4 separate regions of the Homo sapiens genome follow, and all the other regions are linked to region 4. Evidence: promoter capture Hi-C in 16 types of primary human blood cells and fetal thymus (Javierre and others, 2016). All regions are on one chromosome and are shown on one strand. The core of a region is centred on a gene start or on the middle of the fragment in contact, and the rest is flanking DNA. Distances in the headings are between cores, read along the strand shown.

Region 1 (6,800 bases), core at 4,246-6,745, 320 kb before region 4:
TTTTAAACCTCTCTGAGCCTCAGTCTGTCTGTAAAATAAGGTTAATGAAGATTGCATAGAATGAGGTATACAGGATGTGTTAAGCTAGTATTCTCTGGTGTATATATTTGTGAAGTTACTTTTTTAGGTTCCTTGAGCTACTTCAGCTTTTAGGGATGAGTGTGATGATACAAAACCCGTATGGTAGCCAAGTATGGTAGGCAACATAGCAGTGCTCATTAAATGCCTCAAAAATTTTTTTAACCTCAAAATTTCTTATAATAGGAATCAACAGTGAGACAATTATGAAACCAGCTTCAATTTCAGAGGAAGAATTGTTGAATTTAATCAATAAACTGAATAATGATGATAATGTAGATGGCCTCCTTGTTCAGTTGCCTCTTCCAGGTGAGTTTTGGACTCCATTTAACATGATTGCTGCTGCTTCTGCTCCTTTCCCTCTCCCTCCCTCTCTCTCTCCCTCCCCATCCCCCTCCTCCTCCCTCTCCTTTCCTTGTCTCACTCTGTCACCCAGGCTAGAGTGCAATGGTACAATCATAGCTCATTGCATGCTCAAGCTCCTGGGTTCAAGGGATCCTCCTGCCTTAGCCTCCCAAATAGCTAGGACTATAGGCATGTCCACCATGCCCAGCTAATTTTTACATTTTTCCTAGAAATGAAAGTCTGTCTGTGTTGCCTGGGCTGGTCTTGGACTCTGTGCTTCCCAAAGTGCTGGGATTACAGGCATGAACTACCATGCCCTACCTAAAATGGTTTCTGAGGGGTAAAAAGGCCTTGTTACTTTATACACCTGGTTCTTCATGTGGATTTGGCTTAAAGGCAAAATAAACTCAAAAGAGTGAATATTTTATTAGAAATGGGACAGACCAACTCAGAATACCAATTACGCCTTGATTTAGTATTGTGGTCTTGATACAAAGGACAGTGGAGGGAAGCAGCTGTGATAGACGATATTGGCTTTGCTATTGGTGTTTGGCTTTGCTTATGCGAGTTCCTTCCATGCAGATGAAGTACATCTCAGAGGCAAGCTGTAGAAGAATAGATTTCCTTGCGAAGCAGATAAGCTGGAGTCAGGCAGTGCTGACTATGCGGTGGTGATTTAAGGCAACTGTGCCAATTTCTTTTTCAGAGCATATTGATGAGAGAAGGATCTGCAATGCTGTTTCTCCAGACAAGGATGTTGATGGCTTTCATGTAATTAATGTAGGACGAATGTGTTTGGATCAGTATTCCATGTTACCGGCTACTCCATGGGGTGTGTGGGAAATAATCAAGCGAACTGGTAGGTATATCCCAGAATTGCATGTCTGTGTTAATATTATAAAAGTAGTACTGGCAAATGGTAAAAACTCATACAGTCCCAAAGAGTGGAAACCCTACTGCATATCCTCTAGTCTTACTCCCCAAAGTTTACCTCTCTTAACAGTTTTTTTTTTGTTTTTTGTTTTTTTTGAGACAGGGTCTTGCTCTGTCACCCAGGCTGGAGTGCAGTGGCGCGATCTTGGCTCACTGCAGCCTCTGCCTCCTGAGTTCAAGCGATTCTCATGCCTCAGCCTCCTGAGTAGCTGGGATTACAGGCACGTGCCACCATGCCCAGCTAATTTTTTTATTTCTAGTAGAGACAGGTTTCACCATATTGACCAAGCTGGTCTCGAACTAGGCCTCAGGTGATCCGCCCCCTCAGCCTCCCAGAGTGCTGGGATTATAGGCATGAGCCATCGTGCCTGCCCTTAACAGTTGCCTATGACAGTTTTTGCTTTTTAATCCAGAAGTCTCAGTGAAGGAAATTTTCTATTTTTCTTTTTCTTTTTTTTTGTTTTTGAGACGGAGTCTTGCTCTGTTGCCCAGGCTGGAGTGCAGTGGCGTGATCTCGACTCACTGCAAGCTCCACCTCCTGAGTTCATGCCATTCTCCTGCCTCAGCCTCCTGAGTAGCTGGGACTACAGGTGCCCACCACCATGCCTGGCTAACTTTTTTTTTTTCTCGTATTTTTAGTACAGACGGGGTTTCACCGTGTTAGCCAGGATGGTCTTGATCTCCTGACCTTGTGATCCACCTGCCTTGGCCTCCCAAAGTGCTGGGATTACAGGTGTGAGCCATCGCGCGTGGCCTCTATTTTTCTTTTTAATTTTTTCTTTAAGAGTCAGAGGTTTCATCATGCTGCCCAGGCTGGTCTCAAACTCCTGGCCTCAAGCAATTCTCCTACCTTAGCCTCCCTGGCCTCAAGCAATCCTCCCTCCTGCTGGGATTACAGGTGTGAGCCACCGCCCCAGCCCTCAGTGAAGGAAATTTAAGATTTGATAGTGGTGACAGTGCACATTCCTGTAACATTTTGTAGCCTGTAGTATGCTTTCTCCTGTTTTCTTTTAGCCCTTATTATGTGTAGCAAGTTACAGCTCCAGTTGACTGATGAGGCAAAATTGGGTTCATGTTCTAGGCCATCTGACTTTGTTTTCCTTTGGACTGGCACTACTTTTAATGTCAATACATATATTTTTATAGGCATTCCAACCCTAGGGAAGAATGTGGTTGTGGCTGGAAGGTCAAAAAACGTTGGAATGCCCATTGCAATGTTACTGCACACAGATGGGGCGCATGAACGTCCCGGAGGTAAGGAAATTGCTTTCAGGGAACACTGTCCTTTTTTCCCCATGTAAGAACTTTCAGAAGCCATCCTGTGCATGTTTGGAAGTATTAACTCTGTTATACTTTGTATTTGTTGAAATTTTGTTAACAGACAATTCAGGGAGTAACCTTTGTAGAGAAGCTGCACCCAGTGTCACCTGAGTTTCTTTATTATTCATTTATCATGTAACTAGCTTCAGAAATAAATTTAAGTTTTGAGTATAAGCATGGTTGTAGGCAATTAGAAAATTTCAGCTATAGCTTTGATAGCTGGAGCTAAGGAGCAATTCTTATTCAAAGATACTGTGTCATTTAGTGGAAAAAAATCTTTAGCCGTTGCAAAGGATTGGATTGGTATGACTGTAATGTGTCCTGTCAGGTTCTGTTAATTGGTTCTAAGGTAAAGCCTCGTCAATCAGTTATCACATAATTATTGTAATAATGACCTTACATGATTATATCAGAAATAAAGGCAAAACTATATACTTTCAACTATCTTTCAACATACTTAAAACAACCTTGAGTAATTTTAGTGATATTTTGCTTAGAAAAGGTAAAATTCTTGAAAGGCTTTAAAAATAGGATGAATAAATTTAATTATATGACTCAAAACAGTCGAGCTGGGACCAATGGGTTAAAGCTATATGATATTAGGTATTAATTTTAAAAAAGTAAATGACAATTAGCTGTTCAGAAAACATGGCACAAGCCATTAAGTCAGTTTTTTTTTTTTTTTTTCCTGGAGATGGAGTCTTGCCCTGTTGCCCAGGCTAGTGCAGTGGCACAATCTTGGCTCACTGCAACCTCCACCTTCCAGGTTCAAGTGATTCTCATGCCTCAGCCTCCCAAGTAGCTGGGATTACAGGCATGCGCCACCACGCCCAGCTAATTTTTGTATTTTTAGTAGAGACGGGGTTTCACCATGTTGGCCAGGTTGGCCTCGAACTCCTGACCTGGTGATCTGCCCACCTCGGCCTCCCAAAGTGCTGGGATTACAGGCGTGAGCCACTGCACCTGGCCGTAAGTCAATTATTTTTCAGAGATGTTGAGTTTCTACAATGACTTGACTAGTTGAGACCTAATCCAATCCCAGCTTTGTGTCAGAAATCAAGACATCTATTTTTTTCTTTCTAGGTGATGCCACTGTTACAATATCTCATCGATATACTCCCAAAGAGCAGTTGAAGAAACATACAATTCTTGCAGATATTGTAATATCTGCTGCAGGTAAGAACACAAGGGGGATGGAGGGAAGGACTTCACCTCAGAAGAGGAGGTTGTACCCCTCATCTTAGAATTCGCCTGCCTAGCTGCTATTCATCATTCCCCTTGTAATGATTCTTTGAGCTGCCTACAAAGATGAGGATAGAGTTGTGATTGGAATACCGGTTTCTGGCAGTCCATTATAGTCTAGATGGGTGAATGTTATTCCTAAAGCTTCAAAATATTTATATTAATATTTACTGTATAAAGTTTAAATGGTTCCTTTTGTTTCCTGTCAGGAGCCAAAATAAAAAAATAATAAAAGTAAATAGTTCCTTAGTTAATATTTTTAACAGGTTTTAATAAAACATGTTGATTAGTTCTTCAGGGTCTCTTGAAATTGAAGTTAGACAAGAATCTGACAGGTAGACTGTTTTCAGTACTAAGTTGATCTTTCCTTTCTCCATTTCCAGGTATTCCAAATCTGATCACAGCAGATATGATCAAGGAAGGAGCAGCAGTCATTGATGTGGGAATAAATAGAGTTCACGATCCTGTAACTGCCAAACCCAAGTTGGTTGGAGATGTGGATTTTGAAGGTAAATGGTGAAATTTTATTTTTAAAAATGAAATCAATAAATACTACCTTTCATGGACATTTAGGATAGATTATTTACTTTTTTTTTTTTTTTTTTTTTTGAGATGGGAGTCTCACTCTGTTGCCCAGGCTGGAGTGCAGTGGCGCGATCTCGGCTCACTGCAACCTCTGCCTCCTGGGTTCAAGCTATTCTTCTGCCTCAGCCTCCCGAGTAGCTGGGACTCCCAAAGTGTTGGGATTATAGGTGTGAGCCACTGCGCCCAGTCAGTATGCTTTTCCCTCCCTCTCTCCTTCCCTTCCTTCTTTCTTTCCTTCCTTCCCTCCATCTCTCTCCCTTCCTTCCTTCCCCTCCCCTCCCCTCCTCTCCCCCCACCCCTTTCTTCCTTCGTTTCTTTCTCTTTTTTTTTTTTTTTTTTTTTTGAGACAGTCTCACTCTGTCACCCAGGCTGGAGTGCAGTGGCACCATCTCGGCTCACTGCAGCCTCCACCTCACAGCTTCAAGCGATTCTTGTGCTTCAAGCCTCCCCAGTAGCCAGGACTACAGGCATGGGCCACCACGCCCAACTAATTTTGTGTATTTTTAGTAGAGACGGGGTTTCACCATGTTGGCCAGGCTGGTCTGGAACTCCTGGCCTCAAGTGATCCACCCGTCTTGGCCTCCCAAAGTGCCGGGATTACAGGTATGAGCCACTGCACCTGGCCTTAGTAGGCTTTTCATAAGAATTAGAGAAACCTTTTTAAAATTATGGCTTTTCTAGAATTATTTTAGGTGTTTTATCATAGTGATGGAGAGCAGTTATAAACTTTTCAGGGAATTGTTTTTTTCCTTAGACTTATTTCATAATTCAAGCAATTTCTTGACTTTTAACAAGTTTGAAAATTTGATGAAGTGATTTTTCTAAACCATGGAGTTTCCCAAAAAGTGTTAGAGATTTCTCATTTTCACACTGAGAGATCACAGGCCTAGAAAGTTAAAATGGTCCAGGAAAAAACCATACCCCTGAAATACTAGAATATACTAGTAGATTTCTTCTTTCAGTTCTGTTTTTTTTTTTAAGAGGCAGAGTCTCACTCTGTTGCCCAGGCTGTAGTGCAGTGGTGTGATCTCTGCTCACTGCAACCTCCACCTCCCAGGTTCAAGTGATTCTTCTGCCTTAGCCACCCAAGTAGCTGGGATTACAGACATGAGCCACCATGCCGGCTAATTTTTTGTATTTTCAGTAGAGATGAATTTGGCTGTGTTGGCCAGGTTGGTCTTGAACTCCTGGCCTCAAGTGATCCGCCTGCCTCAGCCTTTAACAGTGCTAGGATTACAGGTGTGAGCCACTGCACCTGGCCTCTCCTTTCAGTTCTTAAGATAGAATGTTTATCCGAGTTTTATGCTGATAATCCTTTTTTTCTTTCCTTTTTTTTTTTTTTTTTTTTTTTTGAGACAGGATCCCTCTCTGTTGCCCAGGCTGGAGTACAGTGGCAGGATCTCAGCTTACTGCAACCTCTGCCTCCTGGGCTTGAGCAATTCTCCTGCCTCAGCTTCCTGAGTAGCTGGGACTATAGGCACATGTCACCTCACTTGGCTAATTTTTGTATTTTTTGTAGAGATGGGGTTTCACCATGTTGCCCAGGCTGGTTTCAAACTCCTGGCCTCAAACAATCTCCCCCACCTCACACCCTGCCTCAGCCCCCCAGAGTGCTGGGATTACTGGCATGAACCACTGTACCCGGCCTATGCTGATAATCCTATTCCTAGCTTTCTGTTTTTATTAAAGCAGTCAAACCCATGCCTAGGTATGTAAGGATTTTCACTTTAACATTAGGTTAATTTTTTTTTTAACTTCTCACTTTTAAAAAATTACTGTGCTTTCTGCTTTGGACAAATTATACTTAAAATTAAATTAAGAAAATGCTATAGGCAGGTATTGAGGTAATGCTTATTATTGTTATACTTACAACTCCCACACAGTTAACCTACTAGATATTTCTTTAATAGATTTCTTTATAGGTTACTTAGATGTATAAATATTCCTTGAACAACTCTGTATGTGCATGTTATTTTACTAGTGTGTTCACAAAACCTTGAATGATGTAGATGTGATTTTTGAGTTTTATGCTTATGTATGTTACTTTTTCCTTGCATGCTTGTTTAATAATATATTAAAGTACACACATGTCCTTTGCCATAACTAAAGCAGCCTGCCTGTCTTGTTTCTATGTAGGAGTCAGACAAAAAGCTGGGTATATCACTCCAGTTCCTGGAGGTGTTGGCCCCATGACAGTGGCAATGCTAATGAAGAATACCATTATTGCTGCAAAAAAGGTGCTGAGGCTTGAAGAGCGAGAAGTGCTGAAGTCTAAAGAGCTTGGGGTAGCCACTAAT
Region 2 (7,134 bases), core at 3,845-6,344, 350 kb after region 4:
AAGGTCTCCTCTTCCCACTTGAGAAAAGATGTAGGTTCTTTGAACCCAGCCCTAGCCAGTGGAACTTCTTGCAGCAATGGAACTGTCTCCTATCTTCCCTGTGCAATATGATAGGCACTGACCCTGTGGCATCGAGCCCTTGAAGTGTGGCTGGTGTGACGGAGGAACTGAATTTTTAAGGTCTTTTTTCTTTTCTTTTCTTTTTTTTTTTTTTTTTTGAGACAGTCTCACTCTGTCACCCAAGCGTGACACCCAAGAGTGCGGTGGCACCATCCCGGCTCTCTGCAATTTCTGCCCCCCAGGTTCAAGCGATTCTCCTTCCTCAGCCTCCCGAGTAGCTGGGACTACAGGTGTGCACCACCAGGCCCGGCTAATTTTTTGAATTTTTAGTAGAGACAGCTAATTTTTTGAATCACCATGTTGGCTTTGAGCTTCTGACCTCAAGTGATCTGCCCGTCTTCGCCTCCCGAAGTGCTGGGATTACAGGCAGGAGCCACTGCGCCGGCCTGTTTTAAAAATTCTAATTAATTGACATAGCCACAGATGGCCAGTGGCTACTATATTGGGCAGGGCAGTATTTAATGCTTCTTCACGGTCTATTTTTCTCTACCTTCCTATGTTAGGAGCGCAACTGGAAAGAAAGCAGTGATCAGAGCTGGGGGAGGAGAAACCATTTTGCTTTTCCCCCTTCTAACCCCCACCTCCAGTCTTTGATGATTGGCCTTATCTCTTTGCACAACTTCTGCATCTCCCTTTTTTTTTTTTTTTTTTTTTGGGATAAAAACTATTTGTACTAAAGATCATTTTGACTAGAGTGCCAGGAAGAAGGTGCTGGGAATTTGTTTAATATACGTATCATATAATTCATCTCTAGTCACCTTCCCGACAGAACAGAATTTGCTGAATATATCCCTATTTTCATGTTAAAATACTTGAACTCTGTTCAAGGGAGTTGGCTCACCTGCACTGGTGATCCCCATGGCAAGAGAGCCTTGTCCTCCCCAGCCTTTGCTCTTGAAAATGTTTTGGTTTGGAGGTCGAAGGTTCAGCCTCAGCTGTTGTTAACTTTGCATGGGATCAGACAGAGGGACAGACAGAATGGATGTGGGAAGTTTAGTTAGATCTGGCCATCTTCCAGATTGGGGTGGCCTTGTCTTCCTGGGTCCCTCCTGCTGACCATACCCTAGGCATCAGGAGATCCAACAGGTCTGTCAGTTTCCCTCTCCCAACCTCTCAGTTCCTTTATAAATGTAAGAACTTTCTGTGGTTTGGCATAGTGGTTCTCAACCTACTGCTCCAGGATCACCTGGAGGGCGGAAGGCTTGCTAACAGATGGCTGGGCCCCACCCCCAGAGTTTCTGCTATAGTCGGTCTGTGGGGGCGGGCCTAGACCCTAGAATGTACATTTCTAACATGTTCCCAGGTTAAGGGAGTGAGGTTGCTGTTCCAGGAGCACACTTTGAAAAGCCATGGTTTAGTCGAATCTTCTTGCACCTTCCTGGATAGGAAAAGGATAGTTGACCTCTTATCCACCTTGGCTTTTAGATTTTGCCACGTAGTCAACCTGGCCCTTGGAATCTGCCCAGCCTCTTTGGCCTCTGCTTACTTTTTACACCTGAATGCCTCTAGTCTCAGCCTTCACCTAAAGGGTCAGCAGCTTCTCTTTGAGCGTGTAGGGTGGGGCAAGAAGGACGCCAGGGGATTGTGGGCTTTGGGGCTGATTGAAAGCCTGGCTTATTATGAATACAGCTTTTTTAAGGCTTAGGAGCTCTGGGTCCTGCACAGTGAGTGCGTGCGGTCACGGTTGTGAGGCTGCTCACCCACAAAATGTGATTTATTTCTCAGCGCTCTTCATGGACTTACTGGATGTTCTGTTTAGAAAGTTAGAAAACAAAGATAACTTCTTTGAATTGCCCTCAGGAGATTAGTTTTCTAGAATGGAGAAAAAAATATAAAAATTACTTGTTTTTGTTAAGTTGGTTCATAGAATGCCAACAGAGAATGCTGTCCCTGCAAACCACCCCCCACCCCATCACCAGAGACAGGGATACTAAAATACTTCTTGGCAGCAAGATGGGCTGGCCTTTGGTATGATCGTCAACTGGGCTTCCATGTCAATGGGTTTCTGACAGGGCCACCAAAGAATGTTCTGTTCCCCGGGCATGAAGTGACTTTCTGATTAATGTTGGCCATGATTTCCCCTACCTCACAGGGTTATCTTGACAGCAGTTTAGAAAAATGGCTTAAGTAGAGGACAATATTTAGTGGGCAAAAACTAATGTTAAGCCTTTATGTATTGACTCATGTACTCCTTTTCATAACTCCATGAGGACAGGTCCAGTTATAATTCCCTTTTTGTAGGTGAGCAAATGAAGATATCAGAGGAGATATGGGTTTTGCACACATTCAGCTAGTTACGTGCTGAGCCTGAAGTGCATGCCCTTAATCTCTATGCTGTTCGACCTCTCTGCTCACCACCCTGTGTCATGTATCCTTAGCTGTTTGACCACATTGCCGAATGCCTGGCTAACTTCATGGATAAGCTACAAATCAAAGACAAGAAGCTCCCACTGGGTTTTACCTTCTCGTTCCCCTGCCACCAGACTAAACTAGACGAGGTAAGATGGGCTCCTCAGACACTTGTTGCTTCACTCTTGGGGCTGGGAGGGCTGAGAGGGACTTCTGAGCCACCTGCTGTGGTGGTGGTGGTAGCACTGGAGGATTGTGGAGATGAAGTTCTGCCTTTCTGGGTGACTGTGTATGTCGATGGGGGGGCTGGTGAAGAAATCTGGGGGGTTGGGAGTGCCCTTTATCACCCTCTCTCCCACACACATTGCACAGTATCCTTATCCCCTCCACAGAAACAGGAATGAGAAATCAGGAACTCCCCAGTCTAAAGTGTTATGATAAAGACCCTTGGAAGAAAGATACTTGGAGAGTTAATGATGTAAGGACACAAGTACAGTCATGTATTGCATAACAATGGGGATATGTTCTGAGAAATGCTTTATTAGGTGATTTCACTTATGTATAAACATCATAGAGTGCACTTACACAAACCTAGATGGTATAGACTACTACACACCTAGGCTGTATGGGACAGCCTGTTAACTCCTAGGCCACAAATCTGTATAGCATGTTACTGTACTGAATGCTATAGGCAATTGTAACACAGTGATATCTGTGTATCTAACTAGGCAATAGGAACTTTTCAGCTCTATTATAATCTTGTTACCACCGCAGTATACACAATCTGTCACTGACTGAAACATTGTTATGCGGCACATGACTGTGTCTTATAGTGCCAGTTGTCCTGAGTTTCTTTTTCCTAGGCTAGCCAGGAAGTAACACACAAATTCAATCATGACTTTACCCCAGTGGCAGAGGTCTCTGCTAATGACGGAGGTTTGAGGGGTGTGGTGTGAGTTTCAGTTTTAGTGGGAAATCAATATTCACTTCTTGGTCCCTTTCCAGAGTTTCCTGGTCTCATGGACCAAGGGATTCAAGTCCAGTGGAGTGGAAGGCAGAGACGTTGTGGCTCTGATCCGGAAGGCCATCCAGAGGAGAGGGGTGAGTGGGGTGGCAGGAGCTTGGGGTCTGTGGGCTTTTCTGGGTCCACCCTGAAGACTCCCTGAGTGTCCTTGACTCATCATTGTTTGCTTACGTGGAGCTTAAGGAGAGTTCTCTTTTCCCTGACACATGTACTCAATAATTTTGTATGCGATCTGCTGCTTTGGGGGTTTTTAGATTATCAAATGGATAAATAATCTTAGCCTTGGCACAAGAAAAGCTCTTTAGTTCTTAACCTGAAGAAGACTTGAATGTGATTTCCAAGTAAGAAAGTTGGAATGATGTTGACATGGGAGTGGAATGGCTCAGAGAGAGAATGAATTAAAAGTCTTATCACAGGAGGAGTTATGGGGAGGGAGGGGGGAGAGAGAGAGAAGGAGGAGGAGGAGGAGGAGGAGTGATATATAGCTGGTGTTAGGAAAGTCGCCCTCTGTGATGATGAAGGTCAGAGCCCTCCCATTTGTCTCCACAGGACTTTGATATCGACATTGTGGCTGTGGTGAATGACACAGTTGGGACCATGATGACCTGTGGTTATGATGACCACAACTGTGAGATTGGTCTCATTGTGGGTGAGTGAACACCGTGCATGAAGGGCCCGTGCTGGCCAAGGGATGGGGGTGTGGGCTGGAAAGGGAGAAGGGGCCCATGGGCTGGGTGTTCCTTTGTAGTTCATATTAGAAGATAATGGTCCAGTCACTTTGGAGAGCCGAGCAGGGACTCATGGAGTTGGGGGTGGCAGAAGATTAGACCATGTATTGTGATGCCCCCAGAGTCTGCAGTGAGAAATCCCAGCCATCCTGGCCGGGCAGTCTCGGGACAGTAGTATAAGAGGGAAGAGGGGTGGGAAGGGGCCGGAGCAGGCGTGTGCATAGCCGTCCCTTGTTTTGGCAGGCACGGGCAGCAACGCCTGCTACATGGAAGAGATGCGCCACATCGACATGGTGGAAGGCGATGAGGGGCGGATGTGTATCAATATGGAGTGGGGGGCCTTCGGGGACGATGGCTCGCTCAACGACATTCGCACTGAGTTTGACCAGGAGATTGACATGGGCTCACTGAACCCGGGAAAGCAACTGTGAGTAGGCCCTTCCTGTGCGAGTGGGCTTGGCGGGGGCCTGGAGCTGAGTCTGGGGCTGGTCGGGGCCAGGGGGTTGTTTCTTTACAGTCTTACATCCCCAAAGCTTGCCAAGGTGGCCACTGGTCATAGGAATGTCTGTGACTATAAATTGCTGAGAGGATCTAAAACAGAGAGCAAGCGGATATACCAGATTATAGCTAATAATGTGTTTCCTTCACAGGAGTCATTTTGGAAGGTTCTATTCTGAGTGTAAGTGGGTGGCCCTGCTCTTTCTTTCCACCTTCTATTTGTAAATTGTCCATGGGAACTGTGAGCCACCTAAGGAAAGTTGTGTTGAGGTGGCCAAGATTGGGGTCTCTGAAAGCTCCTTTCATAGCTCCAACTCCATCACCACCCAGAGGACAGGCTGACAGCTGGCTGCTCATTGCTGCTCCCTGGGGTCCCAGGGCCTCCTGCTGCAGCTGCAGGCAGACCCATGGCCCCTGGAGACATTGGCTGAGGAGCTTCCTTGGCCTCCTTCACTTGGACCTTGGCCCAACTATGTCCTGGGATGGATTGGAGGAGGGGCGTCTAGCATTTTGGATCCTGAATATTGTATTCTCCAGCCTGGCCTGCCTTTGTTTTTAGTTGCTTTTATCTCTTACAAAACCTTATTTCACCCTCACAAACATTTGCCAAATGTGCGTGTGAAAGATCTTGAAACAGGGATTGCTTCAAGGTCTGAAGCAGTTGCAAAATATTTTGAGCAATACAGATCATCTCTGGTCTTGTGACTGTTGTAGAAAAGCTTTTCGTGCAGATCTCTACTTGGACAGGAAAATTGAACCCTATAAATCAAGTCAGTGGTGGGTAACCCAGGAGAGTCCTTGCTTTCGTTTTTTTTTTTTTTTTTTTGAGACAGAGTCTCTCTCTGTTGCCCAGGCTGGTGTGCAATGGCGCAATCTTGGCTCACCGCAATCTCTGCCTCCCGGGTTCAAGCGATTCTCCTACCTCAGCTTCCTGAGTAGCTGGGATTACAGGCGCCTGCCACCACGCCCAGCTAATTTTTGTATTTTTATTAGAGACAGGGTTTCACCATGCTGGCCAGACTGGTCTCGAACTCCCGACCTCAGGCGGTCCGCCCTCCTCGGCCTCCCAAAGTGCTGGGATTACAGGCGTGAGCCACCGCGCCCGGCCTGAGAGTCCTTGCTTTGTCAAAGCATGGTTTATTTATCTAAGTCACAAGCTTGTTTCACATGTTGAAATGAGTCCTTTACTTGAAATTTCTGAGGATCATACTGGTTGTGTCTGCCATGGCTGATGAGAGGTTTATGAGCTGAAAAGTCACTCAGTGCCTGCCTCCATGAATGAGGCACACCCAAGTCATTCCGAGGAACTAAAGGCCCTTTCAAATGTCAAAAGACAAATTTGCCAGCCAGACCATGACAGCACACCCCCGGCTTATCCTTTGACACCCACCAAATTGTCATCCATGGTAGCCCTGAAGTCACTACAGACAATTTTTGTCCCCTCTAATATATTTCCAAGTAAGTATCTTCCAAATGTTGACTGGAACAAAGTGTTTTTAAAAACTAGAATAAAAACTTAGCAACACGGAGTTCCTTACTGTTGAAGCCAGGCTCCCATCCACGCTGGTTTCCTTCTCCTGAAGCTCTGCCTGTGTGGGTGCACTAACATTTAAAATGCGCGCTGTCATCTTCACAATTTTGCCAGCTCTCAGTTAGCCCTGATGCTGCTGTACTCGGCCTTGGGTCTTGAGCAGGCTGCTTCCTGGAGGCCTGGGTTTCCTCTCGGAAAGGTAACCTTGGAATCCCTTCCACATCTCAGTCCTGGGCCTCCTCCTCGCTGGGGCTCATCCTAGTTAGTGGCAGCAGGCCCATGTGCCTCCTCTAAGACACAGGTTCTTTCTCAAACACCCAGAAATGGGCCTTTTGTCAAAAAGAATTATCACCAGGGCTTGGTTTCCTCTCAGTTCTAGTCAGAAAGACCAATTATGAAAGAAAACAGTGCCACCTAGTGTTAAAATTAAATCACCGGACCGCACTGCTGGTTTGGGGGCCGTCCCCTGCCTTTCTAAAACATCTTGTCACCTGCCTGCTTAGAAGCCTGTTTCACTCCCAGACCCCTGAGACCTGTCATTTAGAGCTCGGAGCCCAGTGCAGATTCCTCTATCCCAACCTGCCTTTATAATGTTGCCCCATCATCCCCTGCCCCAGGTGGTTTTCACACCATTTTCTCTGGAGCCCATGAACGGCTTGCAGGGGTGGACAGTATGAGCTGATGAGTTTCTAGGCCTGTGCTACATATCTAATCAGATCGCCTTTTTTCTCTTGTAAATAAATATTGGGCTATGTAAGATATTAATTTTAAAAATGATTTCCTGGCTAGAGAAGAATTTTAAAGATTACCACCCTACGCATAACTTTACCTAAAATACAGGCTGTTCCAGAATGTTCCATACTCCCTGTGTGTTTCATTTGGCT
Region 3 (7,057 bases), core at 1,162-3,661, 260 kb before region 4:
AGTCTTCAGTTTCACCTGTTATTAGTGGGATTAAATGTGGCAGAGGGGGTGTGGAAGTACTCCTGGCTTTGCCACTAGCTGTGGAAAACTGGGCACATCACCAACTCTTGGCCTCCTCCTGTTCAAGGGCACGTGTGTGTGTGTGTGTGTGTGTGTGTGTGTGTCTGCTCTTTCTGTCAATGTTCTTATGAAAAGTGAAATAAACAGTACATATGAAACTGCCCCAGGAGGCACAAAAGTACTGTGTTCAATGGTTTTAGTCCTAAAATGAACTCTTTTTAGAAAAGTATTTTGGGCAAAATACTTCTGGCAAAATCCAATGTGCTAGAACAAAACTCACAAAAATTTTTAGGGGTGTTAAGGCAAGCCAACTCCTCCCTTCGACACACCACTAAATGACAGCTAATTTCCTAAAGATGAATGATGACCCATTTTACCCTGAAAAGAAACAGGTTGTCATGGCAAGAGGTATCTCTGACTATGCAAGAGGCCCTCTCCCCTTTTACCACATTTCTGGATGGCATTTTGGAGGATGGTCTTTTCCTCTCTACTGGAGGTCTACATGGTACTGAAACTTGGAGTGACTATGATCCTGCCCTGGGAGCAACAGAGTCAAAGCTGGTCTCTGCAGAATCAGGTGTCAGAGACGGGCCGTCACACAGACTTGAGGGCAGGCATGAGGTCAGGGGAGCTGCCCTGGTTTGCAGGGACCACAGGAGAGATGCACACAGTGGCCCCTGCCTCACCTATGATCTGTGGTAAGGAGCCACTGTCCAAATCCAGCAGCACCGTCCCCGTCTGCAGGCAGGTACGGAGCTCGAAGAGGCTGTGCAGGGATAGTGTGGACACGTGGGGCTTGCTCCAGCGTTCGCCGCCTTCCTCTACCTTTTCTTCAAACTTTATCCACCTGGAAGGGTAAGGATGGGGCTCAGTGTGGCCAGGGCCCTCAGGAGGAGGCCTCACCTGGGTCTCCCCAAAAGAGGGGTGTCATGTGGGTTCATGCTATGTATGTGGTTGTGGTGTTGGTCCCAGACTCACAGGCAGAGGATCTCTTGGGGATCCCCTCATTTGTCCCCCACTCCTCCTGATACTGTCATGTGAAGGAAAGTGGCATCCAGAGAAGTATACAGGGGCATGAGGGATCTTCTGGGAGTGATGGAAATGTTCTAAAATTGGATTATGGTGACAGTTGCACAATTCCATACATTTTCTAAAAATCATTTACCAGTACACTTACAATTAGAGAATTTTAAGTTATTCTAGAACAATAAAGCTGTTTTTTTAAAAAGCCTCAACTGGAACCTGATTATCTCAGGCTGTTCACACATGAGTGTTCAGTGTGGTTTGCTGGGAGCAGGAAAAATGTTCCCTGACGAAAAGTATTTCTCCCTGAGTTCCCCTGCAAGGTCTGAGGTTTCCATGCTTTTCACTCTTTTTGCCTCTGAAAGTTCAGGTAAAAATTCACATGCCATCCAGGGAAGGAAAGAAATTAAACCAAGGATGTGTAGGGATCTGTCCTTTCTAGAAGACTTGGAATCATGGGCTGGGTGTTCAAGTAGAAAGGCCTCAGATAGTGCCAGGGGAGCAAGGAGTCCTGGCCGGAGACACCTAGCTCCCCTTTGTAAGATGTCAACCACAAATGCATGGGTAGCTCCAATCTATTGCAACTGAAATCCCAAGGGAGGACTTTTGGACCATGACTATCTAATTCTAAAGTTCCTCTAAAAAAGGTAAATGTAGGAGAATGGTGAGGAAAGTTCAAAAATGAAGAGAAATGGGGATGGGGCATGCCTTAGCACATATAGAAACTTGCGGAGAAGCTTCAGTAATTAAAGCGGTGTGATTCCAGGCCAGATATAGACAAGGGATCAGTGGCACAAGAGTCCAGAAACAGACCTGTATATCCATGGGAATTCAGGTTTTTTGTTGGTTTTTTTGAGACAGAGTCTCCCCCAGGCTGGAGTGCAGTGGCATGATTTTGGCTCACTGCAGCCTCGACCACCTGTGCTCAGGTGATCTTCCCAACTCAGCCTCCCAAGTAGCTGGGACTACATGCATGCACCATCACGCTTGGCTAATTTTTGTATTTTTTGTAGAGATGGGGTTTCATCATGTTGCCCAGGCTGGTCTCGAACTCCTGGGCTTAAGTGATCAGCCCACCTTGGCCTCCCAAAGTTCTAGAATCACAGTCGTGAGCCACCACGCCCAGTCACGGAATTAGGATTTTGATGAAGGAGTTGTTTAAAAGACAACCAACCTAAAAATAGAAAGTTAAATCCCTACTTTTCACCAAACACAATACTAAATTCTTCATAGATTAAAGTCTAAAGATAAAAATAAATCTATAAGCAAAAATGCAAATATACTAGAAGAGAATATAGGAGAGTATTCTTATATTCTTGGAGAATATTGTGGAGAAAGACTTCCTAAACAAGGTATAAAACCATAAAGGAAAAAAATGGACAGATTTGATTGCACAAAACTAAAATAAATGAAAACTTCTATATAGTAAAATAACATATAAATCAAGTTCAAAGAAAAGTAATGTACTGAGAAAAATATCTGCAACAAAGAAAGCATCAAAATACTAATATTTATAACAATGCTCCTTTGAATTAATAAGAAATTAACCAATTAACTCAAATTATCCAATAGAAAGTAAACAATCCTGAGAAGAAATGAAGATGGCCAATAAACATATGAAAAGATGCTCAACCTTACCAGTAATCATGGACTTTTAAATTACTACAAATGAAATAACATTCTTCATTTTTTAATACTGGCAAAAGTTAAAAAGATTGACAACTTCCTGTGTCAGTGAAAACATGGGGAGGTGGCCTCTCATCTGCTGCAGGTGTAATGACACAGCCTTCCTGGTGTGGGCAGCCTGTTTCAACATTCAGTGTGCATGCCTTTTGACCCAGTGGTTCGATTTCTAGGAAACGATCACAGGAATATAATTACACTGCCACACCCTGTAATATGTATACAAGGACGCTCGATGAAGCTTTGTCTGTTAGGCCAAAGAACTGGAAACCACCAGGTTTTCAGTAGAAGCATGATTACATCAATTCTGTATGTCCATGTTGTGGAATATCCCCCAGAAATAAATAAAAAATATGTGGGTGAACTCACATACTGACAGGACGGACACTACCATCCCATTTTATAAAAAAGAAAAACACACTTGTGTGTGTGCACACATGTGTCTGGAGAAAGCAAAAGTTTTGGAGGGATCCATGTCAAATGGTTAACAATGATTACTTTGAGCAGAGGAGTAGGATTGTTGTTGGGGCGGGATTTAAGACTTTCACTTTATTGGGGCGAATTAGTGTAGCAAGAGTGCAGTCTGGTTAGGCTGGGTGAGGTGGCTCACGCCTGTGATTCCAGCACTTTGGGAGGCCCAGGTGGGTGGATCGCCTGTGCTCAGGAGTTTGAGACCAGCCTGGGCAACATGGTGAAACCCTGACTCTACCAAAAAACCCAAAAAATTAGCTGGGCATGGTGGCACACAGCTGTGGTCCCAGCTTCTTGGGAGGATCACTTGAGCCTGGAAGGCAGAGGTTGCAGTGAGCCGAGATGGCACCACTGCACTCCAGCCTGGGTAACAGAGTGAGAGTCCGTCTACATTTTTTTTTTTTTTAAAAAAGAGCACAGTCTATGAAGCAACACTATTAGGTTTTGAATAACAGCTCCATCATTTACTAGCTGAAAATCTCGAGTAAGTTACTTAATCTCTCATCACCTTTGATTTCTTCAGTAATAATAATAATGTACAGCAATTAGAGCAGTGCCTAGCACACAAGATACACTCTGTTAATGTTAGCTATTAAGTTAAAAATAAAGAATATTACTTTTGTAATTTTAGGAACAATAAAAAAAGAAGAAAGCAAAGTCATTCAAAGCTCCTCCAACCAGGAGGCATCATGCTGATGTCTTGATGGTTGATATTTTGGTAACTGCCATTCTAGATCTCCTCGTGCATGCATGCACATATGCCTGTGTTTGCATTAACTGTACATTAATGGCACCACAAGGACCTTAAGGGTATAGTATCTAATGGACATCCTTTCATCTCTATTAGTATTAACATCATTCTGAAGTCCTTCTAGTATTCCACTGTCTGAATGTACCATAATTGATAGGAACAGTTCTCAACTGGTAGACATTCAGATTATTTCTAATTATTCTTTATTATTAATTAAGGCTGGTTGGAACATCCTTGGTTCCTGCTCCACAATTTCTTTAGGATAAACTCTCAGAAGTGGAATTACTGTGTCTGCACATTTTTACATTTATAACAAGCATTACCAAACTGTTTTCCAGAAAGCTTATGTCAGTGCCCACTGCCACCAATGAGATCTTACATTTCCCTAAAGTCTCCCAGACTTTGGTATTTTCATTCTTTTTCACCTTTGTTCATTTGGTAGTTGAAAAATTATCTCACATTTGCACTCTTCTGATTACTAGTGAGATTGAACATCTTTTCCTTCATCAGATTTCCTCTTCACGTAACTGTATATTTTGCATTATCTATGTTTAACACCTTCATTCCATACATTTATTTGAGACAAGTTAACCAGGCACCTGGTGGGATCCTGGGGAATCAGATGGACACAGAATGGGGAGATCTAATTAGAGAAGGACTGGGAGGTGAAGACCTGAAACATGGGGGCTGGAGCCAGAGACCAGGCAGACAAGTTGTAGCTGACCTTTTTGTGGAGAAATCTGTTTGGGAAATATCATTTAAATTATGGCAGATCCAAGACTATGTGATATCGAAAGTAAGATGTTTCTAAAAGGTATATTAACATAAGAGTTTACAAGGAATAGACCAAAGGATAAGTTCAAAATTTTTTTTTTTTTGAGACGGAGTTTCACTCTCATCGCCCAGGCTGGAGTGCAATGGTGCAAGCTTGGCTCACTGCAACCTCTGCCTCCGTGGTTCAAGTGATCTCCTGTTTCAGCCTCCTGAGTAGCTGGGATTACAGGTGCCTGCCACCAGGCCCGGCTGTTTGTTTTTTGTTTGTTTGTTTGTTTGTTTGTTTGTTTTTTAGTAGAGACAGGGTTTCATTATGTTGGTCAGGCTGGTCTCAAATTCCTGACCTCAGGTGGTCCACCCACCTCCGCCTCTAAAAGTGCTGGGATTACAGGCGTGAGCCACCGCGCCCGGCCAGTCCAAATGTTTTAGTTGAGAGGATGCTCAACTTTTCTTCCTGAGGATCGACCTCCTATTCAGCTTGCCTTTTATTGTTTTTTTTTTCTCAAAAATAATACAAAAGATAAACTGAACTGTCACCCTGCTCCCAAAGACTCTTTTGCTACTCCATGGTCTTACCCACCCACCTAAAGGTGTGATGTGGCCCAGTGCATGGGGCCAGTTGAGTGGGTTGCTGTCTTCACTGTCTCACAAACATCCTAGGCCAGACAGTCTCAGGCAGCTCTCTCCCCTGACATCCCATTCTTCAGTCTTCTGCCCATACAAATGCAACTCCACCTGAAGGAGTGATAAGAGCAATGCTTCCTCTTTGAAACATCCTCTACTAACTCCAGATAGCAGATAGCAAAGACATGCAGTCCTCTCCACCTCTCAGGACTTCAACTATTTGTACTGTGTTAGGCATACACCAAACATTAACCCCATAGACACACAGACAAGGGCGATAACCCACATGAGAATAGCCTGCATAAACACTAAATTACTTGTCTCCAATTTTAAGCCAATGCCAGAACTAGACTCTGCTACCAGAATCCAGAAAATTTGATTTAAGAAATTCCGGAATATGAGACCATTTAACTAGGGACACCGCTCTAGTCCCCTCTATAACTATTTTGGGAATCCAGATGTTGAACCATTAAGCTTGCTACCTGGAACTTAATTTTGTGTTTTCAATGGCTACAGCTAGAAATTTAGCTCACTTTCACCTTGAATGGAAAAGGAAACATGGAGGACCAAAGATCCATAGCAATGGTTTTCAACCTTGGCTGTCCATTAGAATAACTTGGAGAGATTTATAAAAATACCAATGCCTGGGGCTGGGCGCGGTGGCTCATGCCTGTAATCCCAGCACTTTGGGAGGCAGAGGCAGGCGGATCACGAGGTCAGGAGATCGAGACCATCCTGGCTAACATGGTGAAACCCTGTCTCTACTAAAAATACAAAAAATTAGCCAGGCGTGGTGGCAGGCGCTTGTAGTCCCAGCTACTCAGGAGGCTGAGGCAGGAGAATGGCGTGAACCCGGGAGGCGGAGCTTGCAGTGAGCAGAGATCATGCCACTGCACTCCAACCTGGATGACAGAGCGAGACTCCGTCTCAAAACAAAACAAAACAAAACAAAAACCAATGCCTGGATGGTTACCCCACCAGGAGGGTGACCCTGCCATGGAAACTCCCGGGTTATCTGACTGCACCCTGTGGGTTCAGGAGCCCCTGCTCTGTAGGTACATAGAATGGTGTGACTTAGGGATAGTTCAACTTATATGGGGTCCCAACGCAGGCAAACGTAGCTCACATGGATCTGATTCTCATTATACAGCAGGACATGGCCTCTTTCCCTTAGAATGGCTCCAAGAACACTAGCTGAAAGGGTCTCCTTTCTAGCACAGTCATGCTATGCTTTAGTTTCTCTGATTTTATAACTGAAGTCCATTTACAGTACATATTCTACTACACCAGTGTGCCTCAAACTCTAATGTGCATGGGGATCTTGTCAAAATGCAGATCCTCATTGAGCAGGTCTGGAATGAGGTCAAAGATTCTACATTTCTAATAAGCTCCTAGGTGTGCTCATGCTGCTGGTCTGCAGATCACCTCTGAGATCATGTAGAATGTCCTCTTTCCTCTCTGTTTTCCACTGCCCAGCGAGAATGCCCCTTCCTCCACAAAGCCTCTGCCAGTTATTCTGCTTATTTCTCCTATAACACCCTAGGATGGTTCTCAACCTGAAGCACTTTAGAAACCACTGTTCTAGGACAGTGATTCTTAAGCTTGCTTGCATATAAGAATACCCTAGATGCCTTTAAAATCTTCATGTCTCAGTCATATCCTAGACCAGTT
Region 4 (6,760 bases), core at 501-3,000:
GCAAACTCCTCATTCGCTTCCCCTAGTTGGCGATGAACAGGACGAAGCCACCTGCAAAGAAACAATCCAGGGCTATGTTGTGGGCACCCAGGGTAGAGGCTGTCACCATTCCCCACTTTGGTACCTCTTTGCATGGTGGGTGGGAAAATAGTAAATACTGTAAATACTTTGTGTTGCCTCTGTGGTAGAACCTTGATATAAAGATCTACAAATGGACAGGGCAGAGGCCACTAATTCCTTGACCTTGAGGTGAGCCTCTCCCCAGCGACCAAAATGTGAGGACAGTTAATACCTTACTTGATACACCGTGAAAGGGACGAAAAGTGACCACAGCAGTTCTGAGACCCAGGAGGCATCTGACACCGTCTGAGGGGAGGGCATGAGATGAGGCCTAAGCCAGGGCCAGGGATGGGAAATTTCCCCTTCAAGCCCCAGAGATTCCCTGTTCAACACACACTCACCACAGAGACCAGGGGTCTCTGAACTTGCAGGGTAAGAGGTTGTACCACATCTTGGATAGAAAATGGCCAGGAACTAGAAGAGGAAGGAGAAAGTAGGATGGGAATCCAGCCAGCCTAGTCAGCAGCTCACACCTGCCTTATAACAGGCAACTGTCAAACTCTACAAGCACATAATTGAAGAATGAAGGGATTCAGGAGAAAGAACTTAAAGTGGACAGAAAGGAAATGAACTGGAGATGATGGGGTCTAAGGGCCGAAGAAAGTTGTAAAAACTCAAGGGCCCACAAGCTTGACCACCTACCCAGCTGGCGCCCCATACCTGTGCTAAACCCACCTGAAGCGCAGGAGCCCCTCCCGGCCATTGGTGGCCTCTTCCTCAGGGAATAGCAGCAGAGGAGTGGGGGGAAGCCTCGTGGAAGCACAGAATCTCTTGAGTGACTCCACCAACTCCCCCCGCCCATTCATCTCCATGAAGCCCCGAGACCAGCACACAAAGCTGGGGGGACTATTGAGTAGAGGCTGGGAACCAGGAGAAGAGAAAGCAAGAAGAAAAATATTGAGGAAAATGAAAAAAAAAACTGACATGTTGGGTAGAGGATCGGGGTTAGGGGTAAGGCTCAGTATCCTCCATGGGGAACGCGAGTGGGGACAGGGGGGCCTTCAGCTGGGCCCCAGGGAACCGCCCCGTGGCGCTCTCGGCCTCGCTCTCACTCACGGTGCTACAGGTGGTAAGCAAATTGACTATGTTGTGGTCGAAAGGTGTCACATGGTTGGAAATGAGGACCCTGACACTGTGATCCCGGAGTCCGGAGTCCTCCTGCCGGGCCACGAGCCCTAGCACCGCACACATGGTCCGCACTACGAATCTGGGGACACAGGAGGTGGTGACTGTGTGGCCTCGGGCCAGACCCAGCTCTGACACTCCCCGAACGCCCGCGTCGGAACCTGCGAAGGACGCTGTCTGGCAGCGCGCAGCTGACCAGGAAGACGTGGATCCCGAGAAAGAGGCGCAGGACGAGGAGGCAGAACCCGACTGGCGCGTAGAGCAGCAGCACGAGCAGTAGGAAGCAGTCACCCGGAAGCCTGGGGGCGAGAGGCGAAGTGGTCAGGCGCCGAAGGCCGAGAGCACGCGGGGATCGGTCTCTTCCCGCCGGGTCTCTTACCGGTGCGAGTCAAAGAGCCGCTCCGGCCCCGGCCCTGAGGGAAGCTCCATAACTGCTGCTTCAGGAGCGCCCGGCCGTCGCCGCCGCCGCCATTTTCGCGCCCGGCCGCAGGGGCTCTTGGGAAGGCGGAGTCTTTGGGCATCCGCCCGGGGTGAGGGGACCCGAAGTCCTGAGGCGCGCCGGAAGGGCTAGCGGTCCCAGCATACCCCGCGGCCCCTTGGGCCGTCTCACAACTCGCGTCCGGCGGAGACCACAATTCCCGGCATTCGTGGGGCAGGGAGGAGTCGGCCTCCCGGAATCCTGGTCCCGGCGTGCACTTCTGAAGGACTTCAGGTACCGGCGTGCCCCGCGTCCTACTGTCCGCCTGCTCGCGTCCTGGGTGCCGCCTCTGAGTAGGGCGGGCGAGGAGGCAGCCAAGGCGGAGCTGATGGCTGCGCCGAGGGCGGGGCGGGGTGCAGGCTGGAGCCTTCGGGCATGGCGGGCTTTGGGGGGCATTCGCTGGGGGAGGAGACCCCGTTTGACCCCTGACCTCCGGGCCCTGCTGACGTCAGGAACTTCTGACCCCCGGGCCCGAGTGACTTATGGGACCCCCAGTCTCTGGGCCCGGTTGTCTGTTGGGGTCACTGAACCCCGAGCATGCCTGACGTCTGGGACCCCGGGTCCCCGGGCACAACTGACTGCGGTGACCCCAGATACCAGGACCCGGGAGGCCTCAGAGAACTCTGGAACCCGTTCGCGCGCGTGGCTGGCGGTGGCGCTGGGCGCTGGGGGGGCAGTGCTGTTGTTGTTGTGGGGCGGGGGTCGGGGTCCTCCGGCCGTCCTCGCCGCCGTCCCTAGCCCGCCGCCCGCTTCTCCCCGGAGTCAGTACAACTTCATCGCAGATGTGGTGGAGAAGACAGCACCTGCCGTGGTCTATATCGAGATCCTGGACCGGTAATGGTGGGGGTAGACCGGGAGGCACTGAAGCCACAGGCTGGAGGGCGGGCGGGTAGGAGGGGTCAGAGCCTCCTCTTATCTGTGCTTTCCCTCCATTTCAGGCACCCTTTCTTGGGCCGCGAGGTCCCTATCTCGAACGGCTCAGGATTCGTGGTGGCTGCCGATGGGCTCATTGTCACCAACGCCCATGTGGTGGCTGATCGGCGCAGAGTCCGTGTGAGACTGCTAAGCGGCGACACGTATGAGGCCGTGGTCACAGCTGTGGATCCCGTGGCAGACATCGCAACGCTGAGGATTCAGACTAAGGTGGGGGCTGGGGTAGGCCAGGTCTGGTTGGAGCTGCTTATTTGCTCGCATCTTCAGATGACAGGTCTCTTTTACCCATTCTCCCTTAGGAGCCTCTCCCCACGCTGCCTCTGGGACGCTCAGCTGATGTCCGGCAAGGGGAGTTTGTTGTTGCCATGGGAAGTCCCTTTGCACTGCAGAACACGATCACATCCGGCATTGTTAGCTCTGCTCAGCGTCCAGCCAGAGACCTGGGACTCCCCCAAACCAATGTGGAATACATTCAAACTGATGCAGCTATTGATGTGCGTCCTGATAGGAGAGAAATGACAAATGATGGGGGAGGGGGGAGAGGCTGTGTGGTACAAGCACCAACTGATATATGGTGGATGAGCCTATATAGAGCTTAGGCTGCAAAAATGTGGCCACTTATTCATGGGCTGAGAAAGAAGAGAATTTGGAGAAAGTACCTACATCCTGGTATGCCCCCAGACTTAGAATCCCCAGATCTCTTTCATGTTTTCTCCTTGTCCTACAGTTTGGAAACTCTGGAGGTCCCCTGGTTAACCTGGTGAGTGAGACATCCTTCCTTCCAAGAATCCCTGCCCCAGGTCAGTGTGGGAAGGGTAGGTTTCCCCTAATTCAAGGATGTTTGGTCAAGTTTCTGAGCAGTTCTTTGTTGGCTATCTCTCAATATCCAACCAGATCTCCCCAACACTTGCTGGTACTTTTGTTCGGGTGCCCCCATCCCCTACTATTTGTTTAGGCTAGGGAACTGGGGGCTGTATCCCTGCAGGATGGGGAGGTGATTGGAGTGAACACCATGAAGGTCACAGCTGGAATCTCCTTTGCCATCCCTTCTGATCGTCTTCGAGAGTTTCTGCATCGTGGGGAAAAGAAGAGTGAGCCTGCCTTATGGGGAAACGGGTTCCTTTAATGTGGTGGAAATAGGGGAAGGGCATTCAGTGGGACTTCCTGGAGGGTGGTCTACTGGGAGAAGAGGGCAGGGAAGGAAGGATGTAGCTGGGTGGGGCTCATTTGTCCCTCTGTCACAGATTCCTCCTCCGGAATCAGTGGGTCCCAGCGGCGCTACATTGGGGTGATGATGCTGACCCTGAGTCCCAGGTATGAGCTTTAGGGACAGTGACATGTAATGTGACCAGTGTAATCAGAGGGGGGCACCTCTATTGAGCTTTGTTCTCATTTCTGTCTTTATCTAAGATGAACTGTGTCACACTTGAAATAATCACAAGAGCTGTCTCCCTTCATCATCTTGACTTTCTTATCCCACTCCACTTTGTACACCTGTCACCAGATTGATTTCATCCTGTTACTGCTTTGATTTCAAGCCTTCAATCCATTAACTTGGCATTTAAGGGCCATTTTCCATCTGTCTGTAAATCAACTTTCTAGACCTGGCTGTAATACCTTCCTATATGAATACTCAGCCAACCTGATTTCCTACTCCCATGTTTTTTATTTATGCTGTTCTTGTTTTATATGGTTAATATCAGATCCATCCTTTTAGGCTCAACTTAAGTTCTTTCCCCTTAAAGCTTCTCTTAGTATTCTAGAATGACATTAGTGCTATTGATTTAACACTGTTTGTCATTTGGTGCCCTCATGTGGTGTACATCTTTTATGTACATGTTGCACTTTATTGCTAGAAGACAGAAAGTGAGTTGCCATTGTATTTTGTAGTACCTAGCCCATGTCCTGTCCATATATTTATCAATGTGTTGATGAGAGACTTGAGGTGGAACTCAGGATGGGGAGAATGCCTGGGTTTGGCTAATAGGGTGATCTGTGTACTTTCAGCATCCTTGCTGAACTACAGCTTCGAGAACCAAGCTTTCCCGATGTTCAGCATGGTGTACTCATCCATAAAGTCATCCTGGGCTCCCCTGCACACCGGTGAGGGAGAGGCTGCAGTGTGATATGGGGATGGGCAAGGTGTGCATGTGTCCTTGAACTAGGCTTTGTACTCCTTCCTTTCTCTCTGTCCATTTTTCTCTATAGGGCTGGTCTGCGGCCTGGTGATGTGATTTTGGCCATTGGGGAGCAGATGGTACAAAATGCTGAAGATGTTTATGAAGCTGTTCGAACCCAATCCCAGTTGGCAGTGCAGATCCGGCGGGGACGAGAAACACTGACCTTATATGTGACCCCTGAGGTCACAGAATGAATAGATCACCAAGAGTATGAGGCTCCTGCTCTGATTTCCTCCTTGCCTTTCTGGCTGAGGTTCTGAGGGCACCGAGACAGAGGGTTAAATGAACCAGTGGGGGCAGGTCCCTCCAACCACCAGCACTGACTCCTGGGCTCTGAAGAATCACAGAAACACTTTTTATATAAAATAAAATTATACCTAGCAACATATTATAGTAAAAAATGAGGTGGGAGGGCTGGATCTTTTCCCCCACCAAAAGGCTAGAGGTAAAGCTGTATCCCCCTAAACTTAGGGGAGATACTGGAGCTGACCATCCTGACCTCCTATTAAAGAAAATGAGCTGCTGCCATCTTTTGTGGGCAGTTAGTCAGGTGCTGCTCTTTGTGGTGTGGTGGGCTCTGGTCTGTTCTGCTCGGTGCTGGGCCTGGGAGCAAAGATTCCCATGCTTGGCTACAGATACTGACAGCTGGCCTCTGAAGGAGGGTGAAAACTTCTGCTTGACAGTTCCACATCCATAGTGCATGGTCTGATGAGTGCGGTTGCTGACATGGGTTTCTTGGTAAGCTCCTGAGGTAATGGCAGCCTCAGACCCCTGCCATTAGGGGCCAGTGGTGGTTTGCAGAGGGCAGTGGCACTTAGATAATCTGGTTGCTGGTCTGGCCAGGGTAGCGTTCAAACCTCCTGTTGGCCTCTTCACTGAAGGCATCACCTGCAGAGTGGACAGGCAATTTGGGAGGCGCCCTGCACAGAGGGAGGGAGATAGATGCACTGTGGAGAAGGGTGGGTAGAAGTGGAGGGACTGAGAGCTCTACAGGAAGGTGGGAAGATGGAGAAACAAGCTATGGAAAAGAGAATGAACGTCTTTCCCTCCCATCCCCTAATCTTCCTGGGTTGCTCTTCCCATCAAATACCAATGTGGCAGTTGTGCACCCAGATTCTATGTCCATCATATTTGCAGTTACATTTCATTGCATTGTTGGTAAAGTCACTCTCTGCTACTTCAAAGTTTGGGTTGATGACAACCTGTGAGTGAGAAAAAGGCCACTTAACCCAGCGACAATCCTCGAATTCAAAGGTGTCTTTAACGCTCCCCCCACTCACCCATCTGGAAGCCCCAGACTCCAGGTACCTGGAGAATGTAGTTTCCTGGCTTCACATCCGTGATGTCAATCCACTGACAGTCAATGTCATGCCGGTAGAGATCCCAGCAACCCACAGTGATGCCTTGCTCTCCAAAGTTGGCACACTCATACCGCTTGGAGACATCTGGAGGGATTGGCATATGTCAGTGTAAGGAAAGGCTGTGCAATGGATACCATGTGGTTCACTTCAGTCCCCAACTCACCCTCCTGACACTCAGTGTCTTCGAGACAGAAACTAGCTTTGTGGCCCTCAGCCACCTTGGTGCCATTTGGGGTGAGGATATCATAGTGAGTGAAGATGTCCATGCTGTGGTAATGCCTGTGGGGAGAAGGGAACTTCTGTTTCCTTCTCTGCCCCCAGAAGGTTTGCCCCATCCCCCGTGGTCTTGCCCTTCTACTTGACTCCCTACCCTCTCACCCATGGCACTCGTGCCACACCCAGGAGTGGCGCCCAGCCTTGGGCCTGAAGTCAGCTCGTCCCAGGTTGTGGATCTGGGAGGAGAATCGGAGCAGACGCCGGTGACCATAGGGCCAGTTGGCTGAGCGGGCTGAGCTGGCCAGGCAGTTCTCTTCCGCAGCACAGTACAACATATGCAGGGGCCG

What was found. The method cuts DNA at HindIII sites, captures the fragments that hold promoters and counts their contacts. A CHiCAGO score of 5 or more calls a contact.
Region 1: a contact is called between a fragment that was not itself captured here and the fragment with the promoter of AUP1 in region 4, in 1 of 17 cell types (total CD8 T cells). The highest score is 5.2, in total CD8 T cells.
Region 2: a fragment that was not itself captured here is called in contact with the fragment with the promoter of AUP1 in region 4 in 1 of 17 cell types (monocytes); the score reaches 6.7 in monocytes.
Region 3: a fragment that was not itself captured here is called in contact with the fragment with the promoter of AUP1 in region 4 in 5 of 17 cell types (naive CD4 T cells, total CD8 T cells, naive CD8 T cells and 2 more); the score reaches 7.6 in naive CD4 T cells.

The regions. Positions count from the first base shown.
Region 1 is chr2:74,207,440-74,214,239 of GRCh38, forward strand. MTHFD2 (methylenetetrahydrofolate dehydrogenase (NADP+ dependent) 2, methenyltetrahydrofolate cyclohydrolase) reads left to right here. Exons shown (of 8, transcript NM_006636.4): 3 at 265-387; 4 at 1,130-1,282; 5 at 2,503-2,610; 6 at 3,760-3,852; 7 at 4,302-4,427; 8 at 6,640-6,800. Among named protein-coding and RNA genes, the nearest start is that of MTHFD2, 12 kb to the left of the region's middle. The HindIII fragment of the contact is 2,871 bases long and covers 4,061-6,800 here.
Region 2 is chr2:74,869,802-74,876,935 of GRCh38, forward strand. HK2 (hexokinase 2) reads left to right here. Exons shown (of 18, transcript NM_000189.5): 4 at 2,499-2,618; 5 at 3,475-3,570; 6 at 4,043-4,142; 7 at 4,465-4,648. Among named protein-coding and RNA genes, the nearest start is that of LINC01291, 36 kb to the right of the region's middle. The HindIII fragment of the contact is 684 bases long and covers 4,753-5,436 here.
Region 3 is chr2:74,264,358-74,271,414 of GRCh38, forward strand. It overlaps SLC4A5 (solute carrier family 4 member 5), which reads right to left. Exons shown (of 31, transcript NM_133478.3): 9 at 747-907. Among named protein-coding and RNA genes, the nearest start is that of MTHFD2, 69 kb to the left of the region's middle. RefSeq lists an enhancer at 2,826-2,905. The HindIII fragment of the contact is 1,187 bases long and covers 1,819-3,005 here.
Region 4 is chr2:74,527,956-74,534,715 of GRCh38, forward strand. It overlaps AUP1 (AUP1 lipid droplet regulating VLDL assembly factor), which reads right to left and starts at 1,751. Exons shown (of 12, transcript NM_181575.5): 1 at 1,625-1,751; 2 at 1,407-1,544; 3 at 1,177-1,327; 4 at 796-980; 5 at 462-534; 6 at 293-366; 7 at 1-51. The coding sequence starts at 1,674. HTRA2 (HtrA serine peptidase 2) reads left to right here and starts at 1,978. Exons shown (of 8, transcript NM_013247.5): 1 at 1,978-2,557; 2 at 2,662-2,866; 3 at 2,956-3,150; 4 at 3,384-3,416; 5 at 3,642-3,747; 6 at 3,901-3,970; 7 at 4,664-4,759; 8 at 4,865-5,364. The coding sequence starts at 2,052. The coding sequence ends at 5,030. LOXL3 (lysyl oxidase like 3) reads right to left here. Exons shown (of 14, transcript NM_032603.5): 10 at 6,576-6,760; 11 at 6,361-6,476; 12 at 6,145-6,281; 13 at 5,927-6,038; 14 at 4,303-5,724. The coding sequence ends at 5,651. RefSeq lists enhancers at 1,195-2,024, 1,197-2,079, 2,535-2,664, 2,685-2,754, 2,785-2,864 and 1 more and a silencer at 2,055-2,144. The HindIII fragment of the contact is 3,652 bases long and covers 748-4,399 here.